Regions from separate parts of the Homo sapiens genome. Here all the other regions are linked to region 1. Evidence: promoter capture Hi-C in human tissues and cell types (Jung and others, 2019). All regions are on one chromosome and are shown on one strand. Each heading gives the region's core, a stretch centred on a gene start or on the middle of the fragment in contact. The rest is flanking DNA. Distances are from core to core; before and after follow the strand shown. Region 1 holds the start of PIK3R2 (phosphoinositide-3-kinase regulatory subunit 2). Region 2 has its middle 22 kb from the start of CCDC124. Region 3 overlaps LRRC25 (leucine rich repeat containing 25). Region 4 holds the start of PGPEP1 (pyroglutamyl-peptidase I).

What was found. Contacts are between HindIII fragments. The study calls those that stand out against the background at their distance.
Region 2: a contact is called between a fragment that was not itself captured here and the fragment with the promoter of PIK3R2 in region 1, in 1 of the 25 tissues and cell types used here (H1 embryonic stem cells).
Region 3: a fragment that was not itself captured here is called in contact with the fragment with the promoter of PIK3R2 in region 1 in 1 of the 25 tissues and cell types used here (spleen).
Region 4: the fragment with the promoter of PGPEP1 here is called in contact with the fragment with the promoter of PIK3R2 in region 1 in 3 of the 25 tissues and cell types used here (IMR-90 fibroblasts, dorsolateral prefrontal cortex and lymphoblastoid cells).

Annotation. Positions count from the first base shown.
Region 1 is chr19:18,151,768-18,154,469 of GRCh38, forward strand. PIK3R2 (phosphoinositide-3-kinase regulatory subunit 2) reads left to right here and starts at 1,396. Exons shown (of 16, transcript NM_005027.4): 1 at 1,396-1,527. RefSeq lists enhancers at 147-226, 769-1,661, 967-1,246 and silencers at 1,357-1,736, 2,047-2,266. The HindIII fragment of the contact is 11,749 bases long and covers 1-2,702 here.
Region 2 is chr19:17,909,368-17,912,069 of GRCh38, forward strand. No RefSeq gene overlaps it. Among named protein-coding and RNA genes, the nearest start is that of CCDC124, 22 kb to the right of the region's middle. The HindIII fragment of the contact is 5,842 bases long and covers 1-2,702 here.
Region 3 is chr19:18,393,131-18,395,832 of GRCh38, forward strand. All of the region lies in intron 1 of LRRC25 (leucine rich repeat containing 25), which reads right to left. Among named protein-coding and RNA genes, the nearest start is that of LRRC25, 3.1 kb to the right of the region's middle. The HindIII fragment of the contact is 2,096 bases long and covers 266-2,361 here.
Region 4 is chr19:18,339,197-18,341,898 of GRCh38, forward strand. It overlaps PGPEP1 (pyroglutamyl-peptidase I), which reads left to right and starts at 1,402. Exons shown (of 5, transcript NM_017712.4): 1 at 1,402-1,519. The coding sequence starts at 1,486. RefSeq lists a silencer at 1,251-1,440 and an enhancer at 1,272-1,959. The HindIII fragment of the contact is 61,917 bases long and covers 1-2,702 here.

The DNA.
Region 1 (2,702 bases), core at 146-2,645:
CCCATGGCTCAAAGTCATTGCAAGTGGGTTTTGAGGACTGCATAGCAGTTCGCTGTTGAGATTCTTCCTGATGCCATCGCTGGTACCAGCCTCCTGCTACCCTCTCCCTGCGAGTACTCCATCATAGCCCTGCCTTTAAAAGCTTCCTCCAGACATCTGGGCCCTGAGCTATGTTTTTTATTTTTATGTTTTTGAGACAAGGTCTCGCTCTGTAACCCAGGTTGGAGTACAGTGGCGCAATCACGGCACATTGCAGCCTCGACCTCCTGGGCGCCCTGGGCTATGTTAATAAAATAAATAAGCGGCGGGGCGCGGTGGCTCACGCCTGTAATCCCAGCACTTTGGAAGGCCAAGGCGGGCGGATCTCCTGAGGTCGGGAGTTCCAAACCACCCTGACCAACATGGAGAAACCCCGTCTCTACTAAAAATACAAAATTAGCCGGGCGTGGTGGCGCATGCCTGTAATCCCAGCTGCTCGGGAGGCTGAGGCAGGAGAATCGCTTGAACTCGGGAGGTGGAGGTTGCGGCGAGCCGAGATAGCGCCATTGCACTCCAGCCTGGGCAACAAGAGCGAAACTCCGTCTCAAAAAATAATAACAAAATAAGCAATCGTCGCGTCCTTTCTATCCTGGTCTTAGCTTGCGCTCTGCCATAAAACTCCCTCTAGCCGAACCCGGCCCAGCCCTAGAGCAATCCGTTACTTCCGGGGCGCTCAGCCGGCATGCAAACACTCTTGGCTACAGCCCCATCTCCGAGTGCGTTCGGCTATTTCCGGAAACCGTCGGCATCTAGGCTCAAGTCCGCTAAATTCTAGTGCCCGTAGGGGTCGAGATCGTTGGCTGTTTCCGGACGCTCTGGGTTGCCATGGAAACTCCTTCAACCCTGGCTTTCTCCGACTTCTGCTTTTTGCGGCAGGCCCTTTCCCCACTCTACTGCCCCCTGTTTGCTGAGCTTGAGAACGCCTCATTTGTCCCCTGGAACCATCTATGCTTCAGTAATTCCCATAAGCTGGCGGTCGCCTCTGGGTCTAAACTCCCAAGGCCTCCATTGGGCACTGAGCACATTCGGTTATTTCCAGAAACGCTCCGCGGTCTTGGGGATCAGCCTCAGTTGTGCCAGTGCGGCCGTAGAGAGTGTTCGGCCATTTCCGAAAGCGCTCGGGCGTCTCTAAGCCCAGCCGAGCCCAGTCTCGGATCCCTCGCCGACCCGATTGCACTCGGCTACCTCTGGAAACGCTCGGCTGTCTCGGGGGCACCCTCTAGTCCACCAGTCCCGCGGGATTACGTTCGGCTACTTCCGGAAACACTCGGGTGCCCCCTTACCTCAGGCTCCGCCTCGGCCTCGGTTCATCCGCCCGGCTCGAATGCGCTCGGGCATTTCCGCCGGGGGCGGGCCAGGCCGCTCGGAACCGTGGCGGCGGCGGAGGCGGGGATCCCGCGGCTGCGGCGACGGTGGCCGCGGTGGAGCCACGGGGCGGGCTTGGCTTGGTGTGACGGCGGCTGCGGCGGCGGTGGCGGCCGCGACCAGGTGAGTCCTGACTGGCCCTCGTGGCGGGGGCGGCTGGGAGTGTGCTTAAATGCGGGGCGCCCGGGGGCAGTGCCGGGCCCCGGTGGAAGCCAGAACGCAAGCGCCAGGCTGCGTCGGGCCCCGCGGGAACTGGGGGGGCCGCAGGCAAGGGGGGGCCTCGGGCTCGGCTCCGCAGCGGTGCAGCCTCCTTGGGACGGTCGGGGCAGAATGGGGAGAGACTCCCCGCGTCCAAGATACCGGACTGGAGCCGAGGCCCCAAATGAAGGGAGGCCCTGCCTGGAATGGGGCTTCGAATAGTACCGAGGGGCGCCCAGGCATTGTGCGGGGCAGAATGGGGTGCGGGAGGGCCGGGGGTCGAACCCACTTCCGGTCCCCTAGCCGGGTGGCCGGGTCCACGCAGACCCAAGTGCGCGTCTGTGTGAGCGCTCAGGCCCTGCCTTCACCCGCGGAGCCCCCAGCCCTGCCTGCCCCGCCCCTCCCGCCTCCCGGATTCGGGGAGCGCTGCTCCCGGGGCGCGCACACCGGGGCGTGGGGGCGGGCTGGCAGGCAGATCCAGGCGGTTTTCTGGGCATCCCCTCTCGGGGCCTCAGTTTCCCCACCTGTAGAATGAGGGTAACAGAGGCCTAGGAATGGGTAAATTGGGCACCCGAGAATGTGGCGCCCCTCCGCCCTGCTCGGACACCTCTTGGGGTTCCCCGTGACTGAAGGATGCTCAGAGCCTCCACCTGACACTCGGGCCTCTTGGTGGATAGCACCTATCCTTATAGCCACCCTGAATCCTTGACAAGCAACTTAACCCACTGCCAAGGCTTTGCATGTGCCGTTCCGTCTGCCTGTCGCGCCTTCCTATCCGCTGTGATGATCCATTCTCTAGAACAGCACGTCCATCCCCCGACCCTAGCCCTGTCCATCACAGGGCGTCTGAACCCGCAGGGCTAGGCTGGGAATGTGTGCCTATCTCCGCCTCCCCAGGCTGGGACTCCTGGGGAATAATCAATGCCCTGCTGCCGGCAGCCTCCCCTCCTCCTCAGCTGCAGTACCCCCACCTTCTCCTGGCTCCCTGTCCCTGCCTGGGGCTAAGGTTCCTTCTAAGCACCTCCCCATCTGCATTTTGTGCCTACTCTGGGCCCCAGGCTGGAGCTACCTGCCAGCCCACTCACTCCTCCTCTGCAGAG
Region 2 (2,702 bases), core at 89-2,588, 240 kb before region 1:
TGCAGCCCTGTTGAATGTTCTCCTAAATGGCTGGGAGGTGGGGCCCCTCCCCTTCAGGTCCACAGGCTTGTCTCTGTCTCCCCTGCTGATCTTGGTATCTGTAGCTTAAGCCAATACTGAGGCCCTGAATTCCTATTCTTTCTGGTACAGCGGGAGAGTTGTCAAGAAGCCAGGTGGAGCAGAAGACAAGACCAGGCAGGAAGCAGGTAAGTTTCCACTGGAATGACTCCACTTGCCTCCTACCGAGGCCCAGGGCTGTGTCAGCTTCAGGTGCAGCTGGCTCCAGGCCCACCTGGGGCACAGCACGGCAAGGATGGAAGGTCTCCCCTACATCCTATTCTCCCCAGAGCCAGGTCTGAGACGGGCTGGGATTGAGGATCATCCCAAAACTGGTGGCTCTCAGGAGGTAGCTCACCTCATGCCACCTACCCCACCAAGATGGAATCTTTTTTTTTTTTTTTTTTTGAGACAGACTCTTGCTCTGTCACCCAGGCTGGAGTGCAGTAGCATATTCTTGGCTCACTGCAACCTCCGTCTCCCGGGTTCAAGCGATTCTCCTGCCTCAGCCTCCCGAGTAGCTGGGATTACAGGCACCCGCCACCACACCCAGCTAATTTTCATATTTTTAGTAGAGACAAGGTTTCGCCATGTTGGCCAGTCTGGTCTTGAACTCCTGACCTCAAGTGATCTGCCCACCTAGGCCTTCCAAAATGCTGGGATTATAGGCGTGAGCCACCACTCCTGGCCTAAGGATGGAATCTTGATGAAATTGCTGTGTGGCCTGCAGCCAGTCGCTGCCCCTCTCTGGGTCATCCACGTTGCTTTCTCCAAGTCCTGACCTGGCAATGGATTGTTCAAGGAGCTGGTCAAATCCACAGTTGCCCCAGCAATGCAGAGCCCTCAAACATGAAAAAAAAAAATCTAGACAGAAAGATTTTTTTTTTTCTTAGAAAAATGAGCCAGGTGCAGTGCCTCACGCCTGTAATCCCACCACTTTGGGAGGTGGGGCGATCATCTGAGCCCAGGAGTTTGAGACCAGCCTGGGCAACATGGTGAAACTGCATCTCTACAAAAAATACAAATATTAGCCTGGTATGGTGATGCATGCCTGTGGTCCCAGCTACACAGGAGGCTGAGGTGGGAGGATCGCCCGAGCCTGGGAAGTTGAGGCTGCAGTGAGTTGTGATCATGCTACTGCACTTCAGCCTGGGTGATGGGAGTGAGACCCTGCCTCAAAAATCTAAAAAAAGAAAAAAAAAGAATATTAGATTACAAAATTCACATTACTGTGGAAATTGCTTTTGCCCTTCCAAAACAAATCATAAAACATGTTTCCTGGTGAATACATACAAATCTTACTAAATCTTCTTTTGAATACATATAAATCTTATTAAATCTTCTTTTAATTTATTTTTTTAAATTTGGCTTTTCTTTTTTCTTTTTAATCACAAAATAATTTCAAGAGCCAATTTGTCCTGGAGGCCTTGTTATGAAAATCTGCAGACCCCTGCGGCTCTCATGTTTGACGAAATCAAGAAAAACATTAACACAATCGTTGCAGAAGGGTGACCAATGCGGTTGCTTTGCGGCTGAGTATTGGTTTTATTTCAAAACACAATGTAAGAGGAACAAACAAAACACACATCCCACTCAACACCACACTTCTGACACCAGATGTGTGGGTTGTCTTTATTTTTTCCACATAGTAAGCAATTCTCCAGTGGACACCAGCTGGGATTCCTCTGATGCAATTTGGTTCCGATGCTATCTACTCGGACACAGCATCAGATCCCGCAGGTTAAGGGCTCAATCCCACAAAACAGCCCGCCTTGAGACACAATGGTCTCTATAGAGTGGGATACCCCACCCTTGCAACCTGCAGATGTGTTCATCAACTCGGAAGCTCTTCAAACCCCATCTTTTGGGGATTTTTATGGGGGCTTCATTATGAAGGCATGATTGATTATTAACTCAGTCCCTAGCCCCTCTCCGGTCTCCAGAGAAAGAGGGTGGGGCTGAAAGCTCCAAGCTTCTAATGATGGCTTGGTCTTGTTGGTCCCCACCCAGGAACCCACCAAGAGTCATCTTTTTAGAACCAAAGACGCTCCTATCACCCAGGAAACTCTAGGGGATTTAGGAGCTCTATGTCAGACACTCCCATCACTCTGTCAGGAACTGGGGTCAAAAGACCAAATATTTATTTATTTATTTATTTATTATTATTTTGAGACGGAGTCTCGTTCTGTTGTCAGGCTGGAGCGCAGTGGTGCGATCTCAGCTCACTGCAGCCTCCGCCTCCTGGGTTCAAGCGATTCTCCTGCCTCAGCCTACCGAGTAGCTGGGACTACAGGTGTGCGCCACAGGCCTGGCTAATGTTTGTATTTTTAGTAGAGATGAGGTTTTGTTATGTTGGCCACCCTGGTCTCAAACTCCTGGCCTCAAGTGATCTGCCCACTTCCACCTCCCAAAGTGCTGGGATTACAGGCATGAGCCACCCTGCCCAGACTATTTATTTTTATTTTTAAACTTTTCTTTAGAAAAAGAATCTTGCTGTGTTGCCCAGGGTGGAGTGCAGTGGGGAGATGTTGATTCACTGCAGCCTCAAACTCTCAGGCTCAATCAATCCTCCCACCTCAGCCTCCCGAGTAGCTGGGACTATAGGCACACACCACCATGCCCAGCTAATTTTTTATCTTTTGTAG
Region 3 (2,702 bases), core at 64-2,563, 240 kb after region 1:
GGAAATGTTTTCACCACTGAAGCAACTGACTTTGTGGCCCTCATATATAAAAGCAAGTCTCTGAGCCTCAGTTTCTGCATCTATAGAATTGGTCAAGGAGCAGGTAGCTACTTAGGAATATTTGTTATGGTCAGCAAGACCTCCAGAGAATTTTCCTGCCTCCTGAACATTCTAATTCCAACCCAGCTCCTCTTGTAAAAAGGGCCACTGGGCCAGGTGCGGTGGCTCACGCCTATAATCCCAGCACTTTGAGAGGCCAAGGTGGGCAGATCACCTGAGGTCAGGAGTTCAAGACCAGCCTGGCCAACATGGCAAAACCCCGTCTCTACTAAAATTAGCCGGGTGTGATGGTGGGCGCCTGTAATCCCAGCTACTCGGGAGGCTGAGGCAGGAGGCAGGAGAATCACTTGAACCCGGGAGGTGAAGGTTGCAGTGAGCCGAGATCATGCCATTGCACTCTAGCCTGGGCGACAGAGCGGGAAAAAAAAAAAGGCAAAAGGGCTACTTTGTGTTAACAGCATCTATCAGTCAATTATACTCTAGTACGAATTGCCCACCAACCCCTAAGTGGTTGTAGGGGGACGAACAGGTCTGGGACGCAGGGTTTGTGTCCTGCCTTTTTTGACTGGCTATGTGACCTTGGACAAGTCATTTCCCTGCCTCCCAGAGCCTCCATGTCTGTAACTGTAAGATGCAGGGTGGAAATGACACAGTCAATTCTAAACACAGTGTTTCTGGAGGCCAGTACATAAAGGAGGCTGATCCGGAAGCCTCGGGGACAGGGAGGCCAAGATGAACATCAGAGCACAAGCTGCTTTTGCGAGTCCAGTGTCTTCAACACCCTGCCTCAGACCATTTCTGCTTTTGAGCCATGTTGACATCTGCTTTGCATATTTTCTCCTTTCTCACCAACAGCCTTCCGATAGCCTCCCCACCTCCTGGCACGGACTCTGCTGCCCAAACACAGCCATGGCCGCGGCCCCTTCCTGCTTGGCCCTCCCTGTTCCCCTCAGGCCTCAGCTTTCAAGTCATCCCTTCTCAAAAACCATTCACAGCAAATTCTCTGTTCTTTCCCACCTCTGGGTCTCTGCCCCTGAGGGTCCCACCCCTTGAAATTCCCTCCATTCCCTTTTCCAACCTAGAAAAGCTTTTCTTTTCTTTTTTTCTTTCTTTCTTTCTTTTTTTTTTTTTTTGAGACGGAGTCTCGCTCTGTCGCCCAGGCTGGGGTGCAGTGGTGCGATCTGGGCTCACTGCAACCTCCACCTCCTGGGTTCAAGTGATTCTTCTTGCCTCAGCCTCCCAAGTAGCTGGGATTACAGGCACCCACGACCATGCCCGGCTAATTTTTGTATTTTTAGTAGAGACAGGGTTTCACCATATTGGCCAGGCTGGTCTCGAACTCCTGACCTCGTGATCCTCCTGCCTTGGCCTCCCAAAGTGTTGGGATTACAGGCATGAGCCACCGTGCCCGGCCTAATTTTTGTATTTTTTAGTAGAAACAGGGTTCCACCATGTTGGTCAGGCTGGTCTTGAGGTCCTGACCACAGGTGATCTGACCTCGCCTTGGCCTCGAAAAGTGCTGGGATTATAGGCATGAGCCACCGCACCCCACACCAACCTAGAAAAGTTCAACTCATTTGTCTAAGCCCAGCAAAATCATCCAGAAGCCGGTGGCGGTGGCTCACACCCATAATGCCAGCACTTTGGGAGGCTAAGACATGAGGATCACTTGAGGCCAAGAGTTTGAGACCAGCCTGAGAAATATAGCAAGACCCCCGTCTCTATGAAAAATACAAAAATTAGTTGGGTGCGGCGGCATGTGCCTGTGGTCCCAACTACTCTGGAGACTGAGGCAGGAGGATCACTTGAGGCCAGGAGCTTGAGGCTGCAGTGATCTGTGATGGTGCCACTGCACTCCAGCCAGGGCGACAGAATGACACTGTCTCAAAAAAAAATGTCGGCTGGGCGCGGTGGCTCACACCTGTAATCCCAGCACTTAAGGAGGCTGAGGTGGGCGGATCACGAGGTCAGGAGATCGAGACCATCCTGGCTAACACGGTGAAACCCCGTCTCTACTAAAAATACAAAAAATTAGCCTGGCGTGGTGGCGGGCGCCTGTAGTCCCAGCTACTCGGGAGGCTGAGGCAGGAGAATGGCATGAACCCGGGAGGCGGAGCTGGCAGTGAGCCGAGATCGTGTCACTACACTCTAGCCTGGATGACAGGGCCAGACTCCATCTCAAAAAAAAAAAAAAAAAAATCATCTAGTGGTGATGGGACTTTGTAGGGCACCTCTTTAGTATCTCATGTGTGTCATGGGGAAATGGGGGGCTGTCCCCACTCTATGGAGACAGAAATGGAGGTTCAGAGACAGCCTTGGGTCACATGGGACCTGGGCCTATGCTGCTGACCGCCACCGCGGAGCCCCAACTCCGCTCAAGCAGTTGCCTCCTGTCTCCCCATCCTTGGCCGCCAGAAACTGGGTTTACAGGTCATAAGGGGGGGAAGTTTGTCCCATATATGGGAACTCACTTAATTCTTACCCCAACACACTATGATGGGGGCTGTAATTCTCCCTCATTTTACTTTATTTTATTGATTTTATTTTTGAGATGGAGTCTCACTCTGTCACCCAGGCTGGAGTGCAATGGCATGAACTTGGCTCACTGCAACCTCTGACTCCCAGGTTCAAGAGATTCTCTT
Region 4 (2,702 bases), core at 152-2,651, 190 kb after region 1:
TGGGAGGCTGAGGTGGGAGAATTGCTTGAACCCGGGAGGCAGAGGTTGCAGTGAGCCAAGATCACACCACTGCACTCCAGCCTGGGTGACAAGAGTGAAACTACGTCTCAAATAAATAAATACATATATAATTTCTGCTTAATAATACCTGGGGGACTAAATAATCTGTACAACAAACCCCATGACACGAGTTTATCTATATAACAAACCTGCACATGTACCCCAAAACTTAAAAGCTAAAAAAAATTAAAAATGATTTCTGGCCAGGTGTGCTGGTTTACACCTGTAATCCCAGCACTTTTGGGAGGCCAAGGTGTGCGGATTGCTTGAGCTCGGGAGTTCGAGACCAGCCTGTGCAACACTATGAAACCCCCATCTCTACAAAAATACAAAAATTAGCTGGGTGTGGTGCCACACACCTGTAGTCCCAGCTACTCAGGAGGCTGAGATGTGAGGATCAGTTGAGCCCTGGAGGTCAAAGTTACAGAGCTATGATTTTGCCACTGCACTCCAGCCTGGGTAACAGAGTGAGACCCTGTCTCCAAAAAAAAGAGAGAGAAAGGAAATTATTTCTGAGCTTTATTGCTATGAAGAGGATGGAACCAGGGAATGAGATGGAACCACTGGGGGGTAGCAGTGAGGTCATTTCAGCCAAGGAGGGCCAGAAGGAACCCTCAGAGGAGGTAATAGGATAGCAGGGAGGTGATAGCCAGAGAAGGCCACAAGGAGAAAGTGACAGTTCACCCCTCGGAGGAGGTGACAGCCAGGACAGGAGGAGGGCCCCTGGGAGGAGGCGACATTGGAACACTGGAGCTGAGGCCTGAAGGAGGCCAGCTTCGCAGGTACCTGCGGGGTGTGTTCCGGCAGAGGGAACAGCAGGTACAATCGCCCTCCCCCATTAGCCTCCTAGGACCATGGGGGCCTGCAGAGAAACTTCTGGCACCACACAAATATGGTTGTCGTGTTTTTCCTTTTTTACTCTGTCCTCCCCCACCCCCGCCAACTTCCTGGCCTGAATGCTGCTCCTGTGACCCCTTGAGGCGAGTGACCTCGGGGAAGTGGCATTCTGTGCCTCAGTTTCCTTATCTGGAAAACGGGCCTTGCTCGCGGGGACTTCCCTCCCTAATTCTGCGCAGTATGCATGCATAGGGCAGGCCCTCAATGAACCCTTGCAGAATAAAGGACCGGCTCATCCCCAGCACCTGGCTCAGTGCGTGCAAGCGGCTACACACTACGGCATAAGATGTTCCCATTTTGCAGACGGGGAAACGGAGGCTGGGGAATACCGGGCCTAGCCGACGGGGGCGGGGCGCAGGGCGCGCACGCTGCGTCTCGGGCCCGGGGGCGCGCACGCCGAGCGGCTGACCGGGGGCGAGGCCGGGGGCTTGACAGGGGCGTGGCCTCGCGCGGCCGAGAGGCTGCAGCGGCAGCAGCTGTCGCGCCAGTCGCAACAGAAGCAGGTCCGAGGCACAGCCCGATCCCGCCATGGAGCAGCCGAGGAAGGCGGTGGTAGTGACGGGTACGCTGGCTGATGGGGGCTGTAGCGGCAGCGGCCGGGGGCAGAGGCGGGGGCGGCTCCGGGACTGCGGGGCCGAGAGGGGCAGGTGCTGGAAGTCCTCTCAGATTTGGAAGGTGTCATCACCCGCGGGAGCCCCGCGCAGCCCAGGCTTCCTGGAAAGTGGAGGAGGAGGAGCCTTGGGGGTCCCAGGGTCGGGAGTCAGGGCAGTCGGGCGCGGGGCTTGGGGGGCCGGGCAAAAGCCCGGCGCTGCGCAGGCCCCCCTGGCGTCCTTTCCTCCCAAGGTGGGGATGGTGACCCTCCTGGCACCTGCCTCCTCTGTCTGGCCTGCGGGCTGGACTGGACCCTTCCTCCCTGCCCCTTCCGAGGTCCAGCCTGTCCCCACACCGCTCCCCCAACCCCTGGCCCCAGGGGACAAAGGCCGATTTGCGGGCAGGAAGTGTCCCAGTGACAAATGAACCTCCCAGTCACTGCTCGCCGCGCCCTGCGCTCCTGGGGGGCTACTCTCCCAAGGCAGGGGCAGGTGGGGGTCCGGGGACCTCGGGCTCTCCCAGCTGTCCCAGGGACTGTCTTCAGCGGAAACCTTTTTGTGTTTTGTGCCAGGGCTGTTTGTTGGTGAGTCAGGGCCCCTGCTGTCACCGACTCCCCCCCACCCCCAAACCAACTGTTTCTCCTCCCTGAGACTCCGCCTCGGGGCCACGTGGGGCGCCAACTTCCGCTGGGGCCTCAGAGTCAAGGAGTGGGGGGGTCATTTTGACCTGCTGTCTGGAGGGGTCAGAGTGGGAAATCCAGCAAAGGTGCACACAGGTGTTTTGTGGCTGTTGAAGGGAGATTGAGGCTGATCCAGGAGATTCAGGGAAGAAGGAAGAAACAAGGCACCTGCTTAACAGGTGTGTATAATTGGGAGGAGGGTCACTGCCCCCATCCCTTCCAGCCTTCCTTTATCTGGTTATTTATTCCAGCACTTTTTGCATGAGCTGATTACATCTTTACTGTCTCCATTTTGCAGAAAGGGAAACTGAGGCTCACAGAGGTCATCCAGTTTGTAAGGGGCTGAGCTGAGACTCAAACTTTGGCTGTACAGAAGGATAGAGTTAGGAGGTCCCCTCCTGAGCCACAGCCCCTACCTGCTATCCCAGGCTACAGCATCTCTGCATAGCATTCATATCCTGTGGGATCACTGGCC